Linked DNA regions of Homo sapiens: region 1 is linked to region 2. Evidence: promoter capture Hi-C in 16 types of primary human blood cells and fetal thymus (Javierre and others, 2016). All regions are on one chromosome and are shown on one strand. Each heading gives the region's core, a stretch centred on a gene start or on the middle of the fragment in contact. The rest is flanking DNA. Distances are from core to core; before and after follow the strand shown.

Evidence for each region. The method cuts DNA at HindIII sites, captures the fragments that hold promoters and counts their contacts. A CHiCAGO score of 5 or more calls a contact.
Region 1: a fragment that was not itself captured here is called in contact with the fragment with the promoter of CLDN1 in region 2 in 1 of 17 cell types (neutrophils); the score reaches 6.4 in neutrophils.

What each region holds. Positions count from the first base shown.
Region 1 is chr3:190,914,198-190,919,417 of GRCh38, reverse strand. No RefSeq gene overlaps it. Among named protein-coding and RNA genes, the nearest start is that of SNAR-I, 39 kb to the right of the region's middle. The HindIII fragment of the contact is 1,350 bases long and covers 1,651-3,000 here.
Region 2 is chr3:190,320,428-190,325,402 of GRCh38, reverse strand. CLDN1 (claudin 1) reads left to right here and starts at 2,957. Exons shown (of 4, transcript NM_021101.5): 1 at 2,957-3,419. The coding sequence starts at 3,197. It also overlaps a transcript of CLDN16 not described here. RefSeq lists a silencer at 2,807-2,966. The HindIII fragment of the contact is 3,794 bases long and covers 1,931-4,975 here.

The sequences.
Region 1 (5,220 bases), core at 1,076-3,575, 590 kb before region 2:
CAACCAGGTAATAACATGATGACAAGATCAAATGCGCATATATCAATATTAACTTTAAATGTTGAGCTAAACATCCCATTTAAAAGGCACAGATTGGCAAGTTGGATAAAGAAGCAAGACCCAACTCTATGTTATCTTCGAGAGACCCATCACATGAAGTGACATTCATAGGCTCAAAGGAAAGTGATGGAGAAAAATCTACCAAGCCAACTGAAAACAAAAAGAGCAGGAGTTCCTATTCCTATTTCAGAAAAACAGACTTTAAACCAACAAAAAATTTTTAAAAAGCCAAGAAGGGCGTTACATAATGATAAAGGGTTCAATTCGAAAAGAAGAATTAACGGTCCTAAATATATATGCACCCAATGCTGGAGCACCCAGATTTGTAAAACAAGTTCTTATAGAGACATGTAGAGACCTAGATAACTACACAATAATAGTGGGAGACTTCAACAGCACGCTGACAGTGTTAGATGGATCAATGAATTAGAAAACTAACAAACATATCTAGGATCTAAACTTCGACACTTCATCAAAAGGACCTAATAGACATCTGTAGAAGACTCCATGCAGCAACAGCAGAATATATATTCTTCTCATCTGCACATGGCACGTACTCGAAAATCAAACACATGCTCAGCAATAAAGCAATTCTCAAAAATTCTAAAGAAACCAAAATCATACCAAGCATACTCTCAGACTACAGCATAATTAAAAGAGAAGTCAATACCAAGAAGAACTCTCAAAATCAAACAATTACATGGAAATTAAACAACATATTCCTGAATGACTTTGGGGTAAAGAATGAAATTAATGCAGAAATTAAAAAAATATTCTTGGAAACTAATGAAAACAAGGATACAATACAATAGAATCTCTGGGACACAGCTAAGCAGTGTTAAGAGGAAAGTTCATAGCACTAATTGCCTATATGAAGAAGTTAGACCTCAAAATAACATTTATATTGCATCCAGATAAACTACAAAAACAAGAGGAAACCAACCCCAAACATAGCAGAAGAAAATAAATAACCAGAAATCAAAGCTGAACTGAACAAAATTGAACACAAAAATGTATAAAAAGGATAGATGAACCCAAAGTTGGTTCTTTGAAAGAATAAATAACATTGATAGACTGCTAGCTAGATTAATAAATTAAAAAGTGAGAATATCCAAATAAACAGAATTAAAAATGACAAAGGTGACATTGTCACCAACCCCACAGAAATACAAAAAACCCTCAGAGGCTATAATGATCACCACTTTGGAGACAAACTAGAAAACCTAGAAGAGATGGATAAATTCCTGGAAGCATATAACCTCTCATGAGTGAACCAGGAAGAAATGAAAATCATTAACAGACTATAAGGAGTTTCAAAGGTGAATCAATAATAAAAAACCTACCAACAAGAAAAAGCCCTGGACAAGACAGATTCACAGCCAAATTTTACCAGACTTATAAAGAAGAGCTGGTACCAATGCTACTGAAGTTATTCCAAAAAAAAAAAAAAAAAATGGGGAGGAAGGACTCCTACCAAAAACATCAGACCAATATCCCTGATGAACCCAGATTCAAAAATTTTCAACAAAGTATCAGGAAACTGATACCAGTAACACATCGCAAAGCTGATCCAATGCAATCAAGTAAGCTTTATTCCTGGGATGCAAGACTGGTTCAACACATGAAAATCAATAAATATAATTTACCACATAAGCAGAATTGAAAACAGAAACCACATAATCATTTCAATAGATGATGAAGAGGTTTTTGATAAAATTCTACATCCTTTCATGTTAAAATCTCTCAATAAACTACATATCAAAGGGAAGTACCTCAAAAAAATAAGAGACTTCTATGACAAACCCACAGTCAACATCACGCCAAATGGGAAAAAGTAGAAAGCATTCCCCTTGAGAACCAGAACAAAACAGGCATGTCCACTCTTAGCACTGCTATTCAACATAGAACTAAAAGTCCTATCCAGAGCAACCAGGCAAGAGAAAGATATAAAACATGTACAAATAGGAAGAGAGAAACTCAAACTTATACAAACAATGTGATTTTATACCTAGAAAGTCACATAGTTTCTGCCCAAGGACTCCTAGATCTCATCAACAACTTCAGCAATGTTTCAGAATACAAAATCAATGTGCGTAATTTAGTACATTTTTATATACCAATAATGTTCAGTCTAAGAGCCAAATCCAAAATGGAATCCAATTCACAATAGCTATAAAATGATAAAATACCTAAGAGTACAGCTAACCAGGGAAGGCAACAATATCTACAATAAGAATTACAAAACACTGCTGAAAGAGGTCAGAAAAGACACAAACAAGTGAAGACACATTCCGTGCTCATGGATAGGAAGACTCAGTACTGTTAAAATGACCATACTGCCCAAAGAAATTTACAGATTCAATACTATTTCTACCAAACTACCAATGATATTTTTCACAGAATTAGAGAAAGCAATTTTAAAATTCATATTGAACAAAAAAAGCCCAAATAGCCAAAGCAATCCTAAGCAAAAAGAACAAAACCAGAAACATCACACCACATGACTTCAAACTATGTACTACAAGGCCTCACTAACCAAAACAACATAGTACTGGTAGAAAAACAGACACATAGACAAATGAAACTGATTAGAGAACCCAGAAATAAACCCACACAAGGGAAAATATCTGAGCTTTGACAAAGTTGACAAAAACAAGCAGTGGGGTAAAGAATTCCTATTCAATAAATGATGCTGGGAGAGCTGGCTAGCCATATGCAGAAGACTGAAACTGGACCCGTCCATTTCACCATATATAAAAATCAACTTAAGATAGATTAAAGATTTAAATATGAAACCCAAACCTATAAAACCCCTGGAAGAGAAAACTATGAAATATTATTCTGAACGTAGCCTTTGGCAAAGATTTCATGACAAAGACTCCAAAAGCAATTGCAGCAAAAACGGTAATTGACAAGTAGGACTTATTAAACTACAAAGCTTCTGCACAGCATTGGAAACTAGGAGGAGAGTAAACAGACAACATACAGAATGAGGGGAAATATTTGCAAACTATGCTTCTGACAAAGGTCTAATATCCAGTATCTATAAGAAACTTAAACAAAATAACAAGCAAAACCAACACCCCATTAAAAAATGAGCAAAGGACATGAATGGGCACTTCTCAAAACAAGATATACATGCAGCAAACAAACAAATGAAAAAATATTTAACATTACTAATCATCAGAGGGGTGGAAATCAAAACCACAATAATACCATCTCATACTAGTCAGAATGGCTATTCTTTAAAAGTCCAGAAATAACAGATGCTGGTGAAGATGTGGAGAAAAGAGAAAGCTTATACACTGCTGATGGAAATGTAAATTAGTTCAGCCACTGTGGAAAACAGTTTGGAAATTTCTGAAAGAGTTTAAATGAGTACCACCTTTTTACCCAGCAATCTCATTGCTAGGTATATACCCAAATAAATATAAATTGTTCTACATGAAGACACATGCACACATATACACATAGGTTCATTATTGCAGTATTTACAAAGACAAAGACATTGAATCAACCTAGATGCCTTTAATGAACTAGATAGAGAAAATATGGTACATACACATCATGGAACACTACACAGCTATAAAAAGAATTAAATTATGTTCTTTCAGCAACAGAGATGGAGCTGGAGGCCATTATCCTAAGCAAATGAATGCAAAAACAGAAAACCAACTACACATTCTCACTTATAAGTTGGAGCTAAACATTGAGTACATGTGGATACAAAGAGGAGAACAATAGACACCAGGGACTACTTAAGGGTAGAGAGTAGGAGCAGTTGAGAACTGAAAAACCACCTATGAGGTGCAATGTTCCTTACCTGAGTAACAAAATAATCTGTACAAAAAGCTTCCATGACATGCAATTTACCCATGTAACAAGCCTGCACATATACCCCCTGAAACTAAAATAAAAGTTAGAAAGAAAGAAAAACATGGTTTGGAAAATGGAAAAAAATCTACAGACAGTAAGAAAATGTTTGCAGTTCATAAATGATATAAGAATTCTCTAAATTCAATATTCAGGAAACAAGCACACAATTAAAGGTGGGCAATAAACTTCAATTGACACTTTAGCATAGGATATACAGCTGGCAGATCAGCACAGAAAAATGTATTCATTATTAGTAAGAAAATAAACATTTAAACCACAATGAGATACCATTACACACCTACTAAAATAACTAAAATTGTATATCTGACTAAATGATAGCAAGGATATTAGTAAGTGGAACTGTAATATATTTTTTGTGGGAGTATAAAATGCTATAACCAATTGTAAAATAGTTTGATGGTTTTTTGGACATTCTTAAAACATACACTTACATGATTTTGCTGCTCCACTTGTACTATATTTCCATATAAAAACGTACGCACAAACCATCCCCTATCTAACAGCAGATGAATTTATAAACACATTGCAGTGTATACATTTGAAACAGTACTTAGTAGACTATCATTTAGCAATAAAAATGGCACATATGACAACATGGAAGAAAAAAGCCAGACCAACAAACAATATATATTCTATTATTACATTAATATACAATTCTAGAAAAATGCAAATTAATCTATAGTAGCAAATGAGTAGTTGCCTGGGGAATGCATGGAGTTCCTTACCTAGGTAGAAGGAATAATTCTGGTGTTCTGTAGCACACTAGGGTGACTACAGTTAACAATAATTTATTGCATATTTCAAAGTAGCTAGAACAGAGTATCTGGAATGTCCCCAACACAAATAAATAAAGAACATTCAAATTGGAAAATAATATGTCAAGTTATTCTTTTTCCAAATGAAAAATCTAGACTCCACCAAAAATTGTTAGAACTGACAAATGACAAATGAGTTCATTAAAGTTTTAGGATACAAAATCAACGTACAAAAATCAGTAGCATTTCTATACACCAACAGTAAAATTCTGAAAAAGAAATTTAAAAATCCAATTTCATTTACGTTAGCTACAAAAAATAAATTAACTAGGAATTAATTTAACTAAAGAAGTTAAAATCTTTACAATGAACACTATAAAATGCCAATAAGGAAAATTGATGAAGACACACAAAAAATGAAAAGATAGCTTATGTTCATGGATTGGAAGAATTAACACTGTTAAAATGTGCATAATACCAAACGCGATCTATAGATTCAATGCATTCT
Region 2 (4,975 bases), core at 1,708-4,207:
TAAAATATCTTGCCACTGCCTGGAGCAAGAAACACATGATAAGTATGTCTAAGCTCTTCCAAAGAAGAAAAAAAAAATTGTCCTCGATTGATTTGGGTCACACAGAGAAATACTGCAGGAGAGCAGTCAAAGGCATGGACACGAGCGTCAAATTATATAGTTTGGAATTCCAGCGCTGCCATATTCAATATGAACTTGGATAAGCAGCCTGACCTCTCTGTGTCTGTTACCTGCACGTAGAGATAGCATATAAAACTCTGACCTCAACACTTGATGAAAATATACAGCAACAAGTGCCAGCTGTCATTACTTAGAGTCATAAAGCTTTAGACTTGGGTGACTTTCAGAAATTAACCCCATCCCTTTTATTGGTAGGGAAACTGAGGAAGAAAAGAAGTAATTTGTCTGAGGGTACATAGCAGATTTTACTACTCAACAGGCTAGGACACTTACCATACCATTGCCAGCCTTTCTAGAGCCTTCTTGGTCTCAGTGCTGCCTTTACTGTTTATGTTTCAGATATGAAAGGCCAGTATTTGGAAGCTGTTTTTCCTCTTAAGTTGATAGATTTATGCTGAGCCATTATCTCACCTGTCCTCTGCACTTAAGCTAGGAGCAGAAAACTAGACAGGATTAAGGATGCCTAGAGATGGGCCTGAATCACAGTGAAGCAAACAGCATTCACCTCAGCCTCACAAACATGGTTGTGGGTAGTGAAGTAATCAGCCTCGCACAGACCTGAAATACAAAACAAAAACACGGGACCCTGCTGACCACAGAACTCATCCCTCCGATTCCCCGCTAATTGTAGGTTGATAGAAACCAGTTGTAATGCAGAGTAAAAGGGCCTGTGCACAAATATATTTACTGAACGCAGAAAATGTCATTTATTTGTTTATTTATTTATTTATTTATTTGTTGAGATGGGGTCTTGGTCTGTTGCCCAGGCTGGAGTGCAGTGGCACGATCTGGGCTCACTGCCACCTCCGCCTCCCGGGTTCAAGCAATTCTCCTACCTCAGCCTCCCAAGTAGCTGGAATTACAGGCGCCCACCACCATGCCCGGCTAATTTTCATATTGTTAGTAGAGACGGGGTTTCACCATGTTGGCCAGGCTGATCTCGAACTCCTGATCTCAAGTGATCCGCCTGCCTCAGCCTCCCAAAGTGTTGGGATTACAGGCGTGAGCCACTGCGCCTGGCCTGAGCCACCGTGCCCGGGTGTTTAATAATACTTTTAATTCTTAAATGTTTGGAACAAAAAAAAGAAGAAAATGAGATTATATGATTCACATGGTACTGCTCTAGTCCTGCAGCAAATTCCAGTGCCTTCTCTGATCAGGGAATTTTTACAAAATCAAATGTGATTGATACATCTTCATCCACACTGACAGGCACCCACAGAACATCCACTGAGACCTAGACAGTAGTACTGACTGCAGGCCCTAACCCTGGGATACAACACGAACATGGTCTTGTCCTAAACAGCTGATAGGAGAAAGACAGTATTCACTGTGTTAATCTCAGTCCAAATTAATTGTCTTCATCTAGCTCCTGTCTTACATTCTTCATTGCTTGTCCCTAAATCCTAGCACGGCCAAGTCCTTTAGTTTTAAGCCTACATGAAAGGCATCCAGGGAGAGCCAGGTGGAAATGAAGGTGGTGGGGCTTGGCCTTTCTTCCCATTCCCACCTTGAGAATTTGCACCTTTCCTTCTCTGTCACCAACTAGCAGTTGCCATGGTATATAAGGGTATATCTTATTTTATCCTTAATATGTTTATTTCTGCTTCCAAGATGCTTCTGTTTTTACTAAAACCATAGAAGCTTCCCCTCCCACCACACTCGCACCACACACAAAAAGCAGTTGGAAAAACATTTCAATGATTCCTAACCACAACAGCACTTCTGACTAACTACAAAGAAGGAAGCTTTGGAGAAACATAGAGGGAAACTACAGTCCCAGCGAGACCGAAACCGGAGGGGTGAGATAGCCAGTCACAGTAAAAGCTGGAACCAGAGCCCAGACTTCCTCAACTCCAGCCCAGTCCTTTTGCCACTGGGGAAACGCTGTTTACATGTCCTCACCTGCGACGAACAACATTTGATAACTCACAAAATTAACACCTTTCAGGGAGAGCGGGGCACTGGCCAGGTCCCTCTGATAATGAATTGCTGCTCTAAGACATAACTGCTGTGGGGAGGAGGTTGGTGTTTGGCGGGGAAGGGCTGCTAGCCTGCAGTTTCATAAGGACAATAATACATCAAAAAGGACAATCATAGATCAAAGGGGATATTTTGGGTCAACTTGATATGTAGTGGAAAGCAGATTGGGAGGGGAGCCAAGTACTGGATATGCTCCGTGCGTGAGTGTGTCTGTGTGTGTGTGTGTGTGTGTGTGTAAATCATGTTGCTCTCTGGGTCTGTTTCCCAATCTGTAGAGTGTAAAAGTCTCTGAGGCTCCTTGCAGAGACAAGTGATGGAACGACCTTGACAGAAGAGAGCAGAGAGAGGAAAGAAGGGGGAGGAAGCCAAGCAAAGGAGAGAGAAATGGTGTGATGGGGGAGGAGACGCGGAGTTGGGTAGAAATGCCTTTTAATAAGATATTGGGAAAAAAGTATTAAACCTAAAACTGCAGCTCTTGAAGGATCATTTTTTCATCTTTGTGTTAGGATTTACAAGTACAGTGCATAGTAATTTTTGGATAATTGGAGTGAATGAATGAAAAGCGTGAAACGCCTTACAGGAGCGAGAAGATCCACGAGAGAAAGCGAGCAGGGACGCAGCTCTGGTGCCTGGTCCTGCCGGGTGGTCCCCACGCCGCCAGCCGCGCGTTCCCCAACCGGGCGCTCCCGGCGCCCTCTCGGTGAGCCGCCCTGAAACCGCCAGGGGGCGCTCCCCGGCTGCCGGGGCTGAGGCGGGCGGAGCTGCTTTAAATCGCGGCGCCCAGCGGTTCTGCGTCTCAGTTCCCGAGCCTGGGAGCAACCGCAGCTTCTAGTATCCAGACTCCAGCGCCGCCCCGGGCGCGGACCCCAACCCCGACCCAGAGCTTCTCCAGCGGCGGCGCAGCGAGCAGGGCTCCCCGCCTTAACTTCCTCCGCGGGGCCCAGCCACCTTCGGGAGTCCGGGTTGCCCACCTGCAAACTCTCCGCCTTCTGCACCTGCCACCCCTGAGCCAGCGCGGGCGCCCGAGCGAGTCATGGCCAACGCGGGGCTGCAGCTGTTGGGCTTCATTCTCGCCTTCCTGGGATGGATCGGCGCCATCGTCAGCACTGCCCTGCCCCAGTGGAGGATTTACTCCTATGCCGGCGACAACATCGTGACCGCCCAGGCCATGTACGAGGGGCTGTGGATGTCCTGCGTGTCGCAGAGCACCGGGCAGATCCAGTGCAAAGTCTTTGACTCCTTGCTGAATCTGAGCAGTGAGTGCACCCCCACCTCACAGCGGCCGTCCAGAGGCCCCAGTCCCCCTGCAGCTCCCTTATGGGCTCATTCTGTTGTGTGATTCCATGGTTATCAGTCTTCAGTTGATCAAGTCTTCTGATCATGTGCTCTGTCATAAGGAAATGAAGAGAATCCTGGTTTGAGGAAAGCGACGCCCAGGCATAAGCTCTAGTTTTGCCTCTAACTCCCTGGGTGACACTTCTGCCACTCTAGGTGTGGCTTCATCCTAAATTCCTATGCTGGTGGTTCGAGTTGAGGGAGTGAAGGCCAAACTTGAACTTGAGCTCTTAGACCTCTCCTAGGCATTCCGAGATTTGGGGTAAATTGAGGATTGGTAGAGTTCAGACAAGAAAATGGGATGACTGAAAAAGTTTGAAGCCTGGTAACTTCTCAAGTGTGCACGCTTAAATAAATAATCCTCAAGTATTAGATATAACTTTTTAACCTTTAATATGATTTTTTCATAGTAAAAGTTACATTCCTACTGGAAATGTCCTATCTAAGTGTCTTCTGCTTATGCTTGAGGTTGATTCTTTTAATTTATAAGATCCAGTTAGTGCAGGGAGGCCCCTTGCAAGACTCTTTGGAGAAGCTGCTTGAGATTCCCCCGAAGTTTTAATTTTCAGACCCAAGGTCTTCTGTAGAGGCTGACGGTGTAGTGCTATCTTGGAAAGAGAAGGTTGGTGGCAGGTGGGGAAAGGCTGACAAGAAAGGTTCTAAATAACCTGCGCAACATAATACAAAGAAAAAAGTAAAGGCACTGAAGGGAAATGCAGCAAAATAGTCATAGCTGATGAAATCAGAGGTCAGCTGGGAGTGGAAGGCAGTGAGAGAGAAAGAAGAGGTGGGTCTTCCTTAGGTTTCCATCTTCCACAAAGAAATTTCTGTGTAATGGATGTTCAGTGACCCCCTGTAAAACTGGAAAGGATTGTATAGAGAGACATATTTCTAAGGATGGTGGGAAGAAGGATAATAGGATAATTGTTTTACTTTGTTTTTTAAATTAAAGGTTTCGAGTTCCTTGTCCGAAAAGTCATTAAATTCCCATTTACTTAGATAATAATGATTCACGGCTGGAGTATCTTCCTTGAGAAATCACATTAATTGTCTTATATCATGTGTCTGTTATGCCCTTTAACTCACTTGAAGAAAAGATCCCTTAGTCTTTGCCTAGATGAACGTGACTGCCCACTGGCCCCCATTGCATGCTAAGGGTGAAAAGTGTTGGCATTGTTCAAGTTTACTTAACTTGTTTTGTCTACCTCCTATCAAGGGACAACTTTTAATAGTGTATATCAAAAGCCATATAGTTTAGAGTTATTAAACCTGTTCCAAATCTGTTTGAACACCTTGAATACCTGTGGCATTTGCTCAGTCAATGTGCATGGTTGTTTTGAGTGTTATTATTTCAGCTTTTGAAGGTTCTCATATCAGGACTTCTTTACACCAAAACCAATCCATAAGTTTAGTAATTATGTGTTGCTCATTGCCCTCAGGGGTTATATTTGTACTTATAAAATGAAAAATTTGGTAA